Linked DNA regions of Homo sapiens: regions 1, 2 and 4 are each linked to region 3. The links are contacts of gene promoters, found by promoter capture Hi-C in blood cells and fetal thymus (Javierre and others, 2016). All regions are on one chromosome and are shown on one strand. Each heading gives the region's core, a stretch centred on a gene start or on the middle of the fragment in contact. The rest is flanking DNA. Distances are from core to core; before and after follow the strand shown.

The links. The method cuts DNA at HindIII sites, captures the fragments that hold promoters and counts their contacts. A CHiCAGO score of 5 or more calls a contact.
Region 1: a fragment that was not itself captured here is called in contact with the fragment with the promoter of AKAP10 in region 3 in 8 of 17 cell types (M2 macrophages, megakaryocytes, M1 macrophages and 5 more); the score reaches 9.0 in M2 macrophages.
Region 2: a contact is called between a fragment that was not itself captured here and the fragment with the promoter of AKAP10 in region 3, in 12 of 17 cell types (monocytes, M2 macrophages, M1 macrophages and 9 more). The highest score is 13.3, in monocytes.
Region 4: a fragment that was not itself captured here is called in contact with the fragment with the promoter of AKAP10 in region 3 in 1 of 17 cell types (M2 macrophages); the score reaches 5.0 in M2 macrophages.

The regions. Positions count from the first base shown.
Region 1 is chr17:20,240,109-20,242,808 of GRCh38, reverse strand. All of the region lies in intron 7 of SPECC1 (sperm antigen with calponin homology and coiled-coil domains 1), which reads right to left. Among named protein-coding and RNA genes, the nearest start is that of FAM106B, 180 kb to the left of the region's middle. The HindIII fragment of the contact is 6,498 bases long and covers 1-2,700 here.
Region 2 is chr17:20,278,741-20,281,440 of GRCh38, reverse strand. The region is part of intron 12 of SPECC1 (sperm antigen with calponin homology and coiled-coil domains 1); the gene reads right to left. Among named protein-coding and RNA genes, the nearest start is that of FAM106B, 140 kb to the left of the region's middle. The HindIII fragment of the contact is 8,101 bases long and covers 1-2,700 here.
Region 3 is chr17:19,976,558-19,979,257 of GRCh38, reverse strand. AKAP10 (A-kinase anchoring protein 10) reads left to right here and starts at 1,430. Exons shown (of 15, transcript NM_007202.4): 1 at 1,430-1,666. The coding sequence starts at 1,579. RefSeq lists an enhancer at 347-1,060 and a silencer at 1,533-1,722. The HindIII fragment of the contact is 5,200 bases long and covers 1-2,700 here.
Region 4 is chr17:20,260,733-20,263,432 of GRCh38, reverse strand. All of the region lies in intron 12 of SPECC1 (sperm antigen with calponin homology and coiled-coil domains 1), which reads right to left. Among named protein-coding and RNA genes, the nearest start is that of FAM106B, 150 kb to the left of the region's middle. The HindIII fragment of the contact is 1,242 bases long and covers 756-1,997 here.

The sequences.
Region 1 (2,700 bases), core at 193-2,692, 260 kb before region 3:
AAAACTAGATATTATTATCCCTTATTTTAGAGGAAAATTTGACCATGGTCACATGATTCATGAATGGTGAAACTGGGGTGCAAATCCAGCTCTGGCCACGCATTTCTCAAATTTTCTATAATGCATAAATGTTCTGTGAGAGATATACAAGGTTCTAGAAATAATACTGATGGTATTTCTTCCTAAATTTTAAGTACATTTAAAAAATACTACCAAGTTATTTCAGTGTTCCTATCTTTATACAATAATCTGCTCTTAAAAGGCGGCAACCCATACTAGAGAACAACAGTTGCAGGCCAGATACTAGAGAACAACAGTTGCAGGCCAGACCGCCTGATGCTGTGTCACACACAGCAGGTGATGCACACTCCATAAGCAGACAGTGTCTCCATGGAGCACAGCAAGGCACATGGCCCTCCTCACTGAATGTCGGTCTGCCTTCCATGCCTCACCTTGTCATTTAAGCACATATACATACATGTCTCTAATTATTTCCCTTTAAAACTTTTATTTAACCTCTCTAATTTGCTGCTTTCCTTGTTATGTTAGAGAACAGAGTTTTCAAATGTCAGTCATGGTCTACAGCATTTACTTCCTAAAAACAGCACTTTATGTCATTGTTCATTCTGATCCAGGAACAGGTGAGCTCCTGTACATGATGATTTTTAAAGTATTCAAAGGTTAACTCCATTTGGGTAGTGTTGTATGGCACCACTGCTACCTTCACAATTGGCAGATTAATATTTGTGAAGAGGGCGGGTCGCATGTCAACCACATGCTCACGCCTGCCGGTCTCTTTACTGAACACCTGAACAAAGCCCAACCCCAGGTCTTTCAGTTAATCTCCCAAGACTCCCCTCTGCCCATCTAGTTTTGGACTATTCACCTGAAGTTTTTTACTTTTATGCCCTGCCTCTGTGCCTTTGCTCATTCTATGCCCTTGCCTGGAATGTAATTTTTTCTAAATACTTATTTTGCATAAAACAAATCTAACAGAAGTTTTTCACTCTATTTGAAGACAGAAATTATGAAGTACTTTGTCTCTTAGGTGTCAAACAATATCTTCTAAATTTCACTTTCAAATTTCAGTAAAAGCATATATAACAATAAAAACAAACAGGATAAGAAAGTAATTTGAACACCAGCATCATAATCTACAAATCCCAACAATAAGAATCAAATAGTAAAAGTCCTGTAGTCGAGTATCATTGACGTGGCTTAGATTCTGAAGAATTTCTGCTAATAGAGAGTACACGGTCGGGGGAATGAAAATACAATACCAAGGGCTTTCCCTCAATTCCCTTCCAAAGAAAATGGAGATATGGGAAAACCCCAACTAATGTCCCCCACCCTAGAGGGCCAAGGCTGGAGAGGAGCATGAGAAGCCCAGAGAGATGCACGGCGTTTTGGCAAAGGATCAGGAACAAGAAGAATTTACATCCGAGAAGGCCAAGGTTGGTTTACCCTAGGCATAAAGGGCAGTAGTGACAAGGGGCAGGATAGGAAGAGCCACAGTGTGCACCTAAAATGGATGAGGGGCACGCAAAGAGATCCAGAGAGCTGGCTCTGCGTTCCAGGCTCACCAGGCAGAGAAGAAACTGGGTACAGGTGAATTTCCCAACTAGGCACTCACCCTTCTCTACTCTACCTGGGCTTCTGTACCTCCAAGTATGTAATACAAATGTACCTTCAAGAGCCTCCCAACACGTTTAAGTCATGAGAAGAAGATCAGAAGCACTGTCAGGCAAAGGCAGTGGATCTGAGCAGAATTCAGACACGGACCTGGGGCAAACGTCAGGCCCTGCCACACCTGGATCTGCTTCAGCAAGAGAAGGTGACAGGCAAAATCATGCCCTGCTCGATGCAAACAGTTCATAATACAAAGTGAAGGGGAAACTGCACTCAAGAGAGGACTGGCGTTTGTAAATTCATGACTGGAAACAGAGTTCAACACTGATACTGTCTGCCTTAAAATTCAATAAAATAAAAATTTTAAATGAAAGGATGAGTTAAAAGTAATATAAGCAATCTAATAATCTATGAATATTTTAAAGCAGAGCTAACTCAAAAGAGAAAGAAATGGGAGCACATCTAGGGCAGGTCTCTCTGAATGTGGATGACATAAACCATGTAAAGGTGGGATTTCAATTCAGTGGACAAAGGATGACTCTGGTAATAAACAGTGCTACCCAGTGGGAGAAAAAGAACCACACCTCACATCAGATTAAATAAAGAGAGGTGGATCAAATGGCCTGCATATGTGTGTGCATCAAGTAGATGAAGACATTTAATAGCACATTTGTATAATACTGGGGAGAAGGAATCTTAAAAAAAAGAGTAAAGGAAAACACTAACAGTTTACATAAAAATATAAAATTTTCTATGATAAAGATAAAGCCATATCACATGAAAAATATGATAAAGGCTCATAATATAGGGGATACAACCGTATCCCTAATAAAATACTGACTTATAAGCTGATGAGAAAAAAACAATCAGCTCAGTGAAAAAGCAGGGAAAAGTTGCAAAACTAGTAATTCTTAGAAGAGAAAATGCAGTGGTTAGTAAACATACAAAGATGTGCTTAGAAAGGGCTGGGCATGGTGGCTCATGGCTGTAATCCCTGCACTTTGGGAGGCTGAGTTGGGAGGATCACTTGAGCCCAGGAGTTCGATACCAGTCTCTCTGTGCAACACAGTG
Region 2 (2,700 bases), core at 135-2,634, 300 kb before region 3:
ATGCTGTGGTGCAGGCAGGCAGGACAGCCTGAGCCTGGGGTGTGCAGGAGGCAGGATGAACTCTGGGGCTTCAGGAAAGGGCGAGCCACTGCAAGATTCCTCATGGAGTTCTGGGAGCCCAGGAGACAAAAGTCTGGTTCTTTCTTTCTTTTATAGTAAGTCCTCACTTAATGTTGGGAGGTTCTTGGACACTGTAACATTAAGTGAAATGGTGACACGCTGTATAACAAAACCAGTTTCACCGCAGGCTAATTGACATGGGCCAGAGTTGAGTTCCCATGGCTTACAGCACATGGTTTCACCCAAAGCCGCCATTTCCAGGAACCGACCGGCCATGCTAAGAACTGAGCTGACATCAGATTGAATGAAGCCCCTGGCAAACGAGAATGTCCGATGCTCTAAAGAGGAACAAACCAAACCAAACTGTGACCCGCTCCTTCCTCCTCACACTAACGCAGCTGAATATGACTTTAGGAAAGTGACTCAACTTTTCTGCCTTAAGTTTCCTCATCTCTCAAATGAAGTGGCTAGATTAAATTAGTGGTTCTGAAATAAACAGTTATGAAACCCGTTCTTCCAATGATGCTTCTGCAGAAGGTTTTTTAAAAGTAGGGATTGCAAACCACAAAATCCGGTGATCTTTTCTTTAACATCCATCTGTCTATATTCTACCTTGCATTGCCCCATACGACAGCCACCAGCCCCATGTGGCTGTTTAAATTAGTTAAAATTAAATAATATCAAAATTCCATTTCTCAGTCACATTAGGAATCTTTTAAGTGCTCAGCAGCCACCTGTGGCTACAGGATTGGCCAGCACAGATATAGAACATTCCCATCATCACAGAGGGTTCTACAGGACAGTGCTGTCTTGCACTTATGCAAACATGCATGTGTATTTCCCCCTTTTATGCAGATGGTGGCATGTTCTGCACCCTTACCAAGATATATAGAGCTAGGTCCTTCACGACATCTGGATGAACAGTTTCAGTGTAGAGACCAAGGGACTGGATGCTGGGCCCAACAGCAGGAGTTCAGTCCCAGCTCTATCCCTTACTAGGGTGTGACTCTGAGCAGTCATGGAGCCTCTTGCTGCCTTAGTTTTGTATTTGTAAAATGGATACAAAATGCCTAACTCATGAGATTGTGGTCAAGATTAGATGCACTTAGACAATGTCGGTCACGTGGTAAATATTTTGTCACTGCTAGCTTTACTTCCATCACCATTCGCTACTTTGTTCTCTGACGACACATGCAGGTCCATCACATGGATGGAGACAGCAGCCCGTTTAGGTTGTTTCCAGTTTTCTGTTATCACAAACAGTACTGCGATAATTGTCCTCCCATGCACCTCTCTGCACACAGGTGGAATCCATTTTGATGGATTCTGCCAAATTGCCCTCAAAGAGGTTCTTCCACCTTAAACTCCACCTCCCAACAACACACATGCGACTATGTTCCTCCACCACACAGCACGTGCCCTTTGGTGATGGGCTGATTTCACTCACTGAAGCATCCTCAGACCCATCTGTGTTGCAGCGTGTGTCAGCCACTCTGCTTCTGCATCCATCTGTCCACCTTCTCCTCTCCATATCCCAACCCCCATCCTAGTTCAGGAGTTGTGGTCTTCCTCATGTCTTCCAAAACCACAGCTCTGGCTGGGAGACCACCTGTCACCATGGTTTTTAAACCCTTTCTGACTCTGTAGTCAGCAGAATTAGAATTGTACTAAGAAAATAATATGCAATAACTGAAAAATTGATTATAAGGAATTTTGTTCCAAGATCAAGTTTAGTTTATACTAGAAAAGTAACCTTCAAGGCTGGGCGCGGTGGCTCATACCTGTAATCCCAACACTTTGGGAGGCCAAGGCAGGCGGATCACCTGAGGTCGGGAGTTCAAGATCAGCCTGACCAACATGGAGAAACCCTTTCTCTACTAAAAATACAAAATTAGCCGGGCATGGTGGCGCATGCCTGCAATCCCAGCTACTCGGGAGGCTGAGGCAGGAGAATCGCTTGAACCCAGGGGGCAGAGGTTGCAGTGAGCTGAGATCGCACCATTGCACTCCAGCCTGGGCAACAAGGGAGAAACTCCATCTCAGAAAAAAAAAAAAAAGAAAAAAAAAAAAAGAAAGAAAAGTAACCTTCAACTCCGTTAACCTTCTACCCTCAGAAAGACTGAATTCAGCCTGTGAAATCATAAGTGTCTTGCCATGAAATTACTTCTTTTTCCCAAATGAACATTTCACGAGTAAGAGAATGGAAAAAATGCTCAGTGCAGATTCACCTGGGACTGTGATTATCTAAATAGACTCACATGCTGTCCTGGGGGATGGAGAAGGAACAGCAGCAAAAATCAAGGCCTCCTTTTTCTGAATGGTGACAAGATGATGGCTTTGGTGTTGGGCAGTGTTATGCTGCAGCAGCAGCTGCTGGCATACTTGACCCATGGAGGCCCTCAGCTGGGGACAAACAGCCCATGGGAGGAAAGAAGACCAAGGGACTTAAATCACCCTCAGTCCCCAGGAGGATGACACATTCTTATAACATTTTATTTTGAAAATCCTGTTTTTCCTTCCTGAAGCTGGCAAAACATCTAACATTTATATAAAAAATTTTAAAGTGTAAATTGGCAGTTTTGATGCAGATGCTTCCTTCAAATGACCCTGGGAAGTCAGAAGACGAGGCTAACTCATGGT
Region 3 (2,700 bases), core at 181-2,680:
TTTCTTCAAGCCTCCTTGCTTTGTGCTAATAACTCTTTGTTAAGCCCTATCCTATGTAACTGTTGGACATGCTCACAGGCACGTTCCAGTTCACAGCCTATGCCCCTTCCTTATTTGGAAATGTTATTGCTTCCTTAAACCTTTCGGTAAGCAACTTCCTCTCCTTCTTCGTTCTTCCTTGCACTTACCTATTTAGAAAGTTTTAGGCTATTAGCAAATCGGCTATCAGTTTAAGAGTGTGAGGTCCCGCTCCAGCCAATGGATGCAGGACATAGCAGTGAGGACGACCCAAATGCGTAAGGGATAAATATGTTTGCTTTTCCTTTGTTCAGGTGTGCTCTCGACATCGTTCCATCTGCGATTGAGCACCCTTTCTGCAGAAAGTAAAGATTGCCTTGCTGGAGATCTTTTGTCTCCGTGCTGACTTTTCTTCGTGGCACCGATTATCTATTTCTAACAATTTTGGTATTTCTAACATTCTGAACAATCTTGGGCTAGTTGTCTCTTCTGGGCCTGTTTCCCCATCCGTCACATGATAAACTTCATTGGTTTAAAAACCCCAGCGAACATTTATTGAGTTACTATTACCTTCCTGCCCTCCCCAACCCCAACCCCAGGGAGCAGTTACAACCTCAGCCGCTGAGCGCACTCGCCGGGTGTTAAGAAGCACCAAAGACAGGGAGGCTTGATTGATTTTGCTTTGGGAGTAGAGGGTCAGAAGATTCACAGGAAAATGGCATTTGAGCAAGGATGATTCACTGGAGCTAGCTTTTAAATACTGGCGAGGCTTTTATGTTGCAGTCCCTTACAAAGTTGAGCATTCGCAGGGACTGCACTCCGAAATAAGCCCGCTTCCCCTTTTCATTCGCTAATGATCCAGGGAGCTGCTGGTTCCGCATGCGGCAGGTTGTGCCTTTTCCTAATCAGGGTTCTGCATCGCCTCGAACCCGCAGGCCGTGGCGGGTTCTCCTGAGGAAGCAGGGACTGGGGTGCAGGGTGAAGCTGCTCGTGCCGGCCAGCGCCTGTGAGCAAAACTCAAACGGAGGAGCAGGAGGGGTCGAGCTGGAGCGTGGCAGGGTTGACCCTGCCTTTTAGAAGGGCACAATTTGAAGGGTACCCAGGGGCCGGAAGCCGGGGACCTAAGGCCCGCCCCGTTCCAGCTGCTGGGAGGGCTCCCGCCCCAGGGAGTTAGTTTTGCAGAGACTGGGTCTGCAGCGCTCCACCGGGGGCCGGCGACAGACGCCACAAAACAGCTGCAGGAACGGTGGCTCGCTCCAGGCACCCAGGGCCCGGGAAAGAGGCGCGGGTAGCACGCGCGGGTCACGTGGGCGATGCGGGCGTGCGCCCCTGCACCCGCGGGAGGGGGATGGGGAAAAGGGGCGGGGCCGGCGCTTGACCTCCCGTGAAGCCTAGCGCGGGGAAGGACCGGAACTCCGGGCGGGCGGCTTGTTGATAATATGGCGGCTGGAGCTGCCTGGGCATCCCGAGGAGGCGGTGGGGCCCACTCCCGGAAGAAGGGTCCCTTTTCGCGCTAGTGCAGCGGCCCCTCTGGACCCGGAAGTCCGGGCCGGTTGCTGAATGAGGGGAGCCGGGCCCTCCCCGCGCCAGTCCCCCCGCACCCTCCGTCCCGACCCGGGCCCCGCCATGTCCTTCTTCCGGCGGAAAGGTAGCTGAGGGGGCGCCGGCGGGGAGTCAGGCCGGGCCTCAGGGGCGGCGGTGGGGCAGGTGGGCCTGCGAGGGCTTTCCCCAAGGCGGCAGCAAGGCCTTCAGCGAGCCTCGACCTCGGCGCAGATGCCCCCTGAGTGCCTTGCTCTGCTCCGGGACTCTTCTGGGAGGGAGAAGGTGGCCTTCTTGCGCGAGGTCAGAGGAGTATTGTCGCGCTGGTTCAGAAGCGATTGCTAAAGCCCATAGAAGTTCCTGCCTGTTTGGTTAAGAACAGTTCTTAGGTGGGGGTTAGTTTTTTTGTGTTTCTTTGAGGACCGTGGATCAAGATCAAGGAAATCTCTTTAGAACCTTATTATGGAAGTCTGAAGTTTCCAAATGTTGAGGGTTTTATGTCTAAAAGCAACACGTGAAAAAATTGTTTTCTTCACCCAGTGCTGTCTTCCAATTTCCTCTTTGGGGGGAGGGGTAGTTACTGCTGTTACTAAAATAAAATTACTTATTGCTAAAGTTCCCCAACAGGAAGACCACTACTTTTGATGACTTTGGCAAGTTTGCTAACTACTGGAACCCTAACTTACAAACGAACTACTTACATTTTTGATTTCCAGTTGTATTACCTGCCCAATGTTTACGTAGAAACAGCTTAATTTTGATTCTGGGTAACGTTGTTGCACTTCATTAAAAATACATATCCGAAGTGAGCAAGTATGGGTCTGTGGACAGCAGTGATTTTTCCTGTCAATTCCTGTTGCTTCAGATAAAATGTACCAGACAGAGGCCGGGCGCGGTGGCTCACGCCTGTAATCCCAGCACTTTGGGAGGCTTGGCGGGTGGATCACCTGAGATCGGGAGTTCAAGACCAGCCTGACCAACATGGAGAAACCCCGTGTCTACTAAAAATACAAAATTAGCCAGGGTGGTGGCGCATGCCTGTAATGCCAGCTACTTGGGAGGCTGAAGCAGGAGAATCGCTTGAACCTGGGAGGCGGAGGTTGCGGTGAGCCGAGATAGCACCATTGCACTCCAGCCTGGGCA
Region 4 (2,700 bases), core at 127-2,626, 280 kb before region 3:
ATTAACTCATCATTTACATTAGGTATATCTCCTAATGCTATCCTTCCCCCCTCCCCCCACCCCACAACAGGCCCCCGTGTGTGATGTTCCCCTTCCTGTGTCCAAGTGTTCACATTGTTCAACTGCCATGAAGGAAGGCCCCTTGGTTACAGCCTCCCCAGCCCATCAGTCACGCTGCCAAGGACACAGGAAAGAATAAGAAGTCATAGCTATTGGTTCTTATGGCTTCTTATTCTTTCCCGTGTCCTCGGCAGCGTGGCTGATGGGCTGGGGGAGGCTGTAACCAAGAGGCCTTCCTTCATGGCATGGTCCATCCTTGAAACAGGGCAGAGGCAGAGTGGACAGGGTAGCAGGAAGAATAAACAAGGGTCTGAGGCGAGTTTATACTTTGGGAGCCTCTATTATTGGTCAGTAGCATGACAGGTTTTTCTTTTCTTTTTTCTGACCCACACTGCACTACAGTGGTGCTATCTCAGCTCACTGCAGCCTCAAACTCCTGGGCGCAAACAATCCTGCCCCCTCGGCCTCTCAAAGTGCTGCGATTCTTTTTCTTTTTTAACATAAAGTGAAAAGAAGGTAATGGCAAAGATACAGGATACACATACTCTGGGTAGATTCTGGTTTTAAGACATCTGACTGCTGACATGACAGAGACTCCCAGCCCTGCTAATTTACTATCTGGGATGGATCTTGGCTGAGGCTGGGTTTTTCTTGCTAGCTTCTTTCATTTTCCATCCCCACCTCCCTCAAAAGCTTCAGCCTGGGAAGGGAGTATTACGGTGCTGGAATCTTCCGAAATTTTAGCAAAATATTGTTAAGAATGCAGTAGGAATTGCCAATTTTAAAGAGGGTATCTATTTGCATATGAAAAGGTGTTCAGCCTCCCCAGCCAACAGGAAAATGCAAACCAAAACCACAGTGAGACAGTACTACACATTACCCACATGACCTTGAGTAAAAAGACTGACAATACCAAGTGTTGATGTGAATGCAGAGAAATAAATCTCTCATAAATTGCTGGAGAGACATAAATTATACAATTACTTCAGTCATCTGTTTGGCACTATCCACTAGATTGTATGCATACCCTATGGCCCAGGAATTCCATTCTTAAGCATGTATCCAGCAGGAATGAGCACATATGTTTTTCAGGAAATACGCACAAGAACATAACAGCGTTATTCATAATAGCTCCAAACTAGAAATGACTCAACTCTCCATCAATAATCGAATGGATAAATAATGGTATAATCCTACAATGGGTTACTAAATGGTGAAGAAAATGAACAAATTACAGCTATATGCAACAATGAGGATAAATCTCACTGACTCAATACCGTGTAAAAAAAGCTAGCTGCAAATATTACATAGTTTTTTATTCCATTTGTAATAAAATTCAAATGCAAGCAATACTAACATAGTACTTACGGATGCATACTTTTGTAAAAATCTGGAAGGAGAATTGAGGACAATGGTTATCTTAGGGAGTACTGAGGGCTATGATGGGAAAGTCATAGGAAGGGTCTGTGGGAGCTGGTGATGCTCCTCTTCTGGATGGGAGTGGTGACTGCATGACTTTTCACTTCCTCACAGTTCAAGAAATTATGATTTATATTTTGTGCATTTTATCTTTGTGTATTTCACAAGAAAAAAACTTAAACTTACATCAGGTATTACTTCCCTTTTCTGATATTCACAGAAAACAGATACTGTCCTAGAAAACAAAAACTCTTAAACTAAACGCAAACAATTCTCAAAACAATAGAAACAAAATGTTTGGAGAAGTTTTGGAGGCCCAACTACATAGGACCTTTATGCGAATTAGGCAAAGCACTCTTCTTCAGGAGGGTAATTCAGCAAAAGCTGTCTTCTTGGGTGGAGGCATCACTGCTCGGGGAGCTTGTGTCTGCTTTTTTTTTTTTTTTTTTTTTGAGACGGAGTCTTGCTCTGTCGCCCAGCCTGGAGTGCAGTGGCGCAATCTTGGCTCACTGCAAGCTTCGCCTCCCGGGTTCACACCATTCTCCTGCCTCAGCCTCCCGAGTAGCTGTGACTACAGGCGCCCGCCACCACGCCCGGCTAATTTTTTGTATTTTTAGTAGAGATGGGGTTTCACTGTGTTAGCCAGGATGGTCTCGATCTCCTGACCTCGTGATCTGCCCACCTCGGCCTCCCAAAGTGCTAGGATTACAGGCGTGAGCCACTGGAGCTTGTGTCTTCTTCTGAGACAGCAGGGACAGGACTTGGCTTCAGCTCATCCCCACTATAGCATTCTTTCATGCATTCCCACTGATCACAAAACCCACACCACTACTTCACTGACATACCTGCTTAACAGTCATGCAAAGAAAATAGCCATACTGTTTTTCCGCACTCTCATAATGTTTAAAAGAATAAAAGAATGTTTAATTCTTTTACTTAAATAATTCCAGAAACTGGCCCTAGGAAATCCAACATATCCAACCAAAGTTGCAAATGTCCTCATCTCAGGGAAGAATGCTAAACAACTGATTTACAGCCTTGCTGCCACCAACCAGAACACTAGGTGGCCCATGACTCAAGACAACCGTCGCCAGCAGATAAACTGACCCACATCCCCTACCCCTCATATGATCTACCCAGCCCAGCCCACATTCTCTATGTTGATATCAATTCCTGCACTTTGCTTAATAAAAAAATCCCTACCAGCTCATTTCAAGGAGT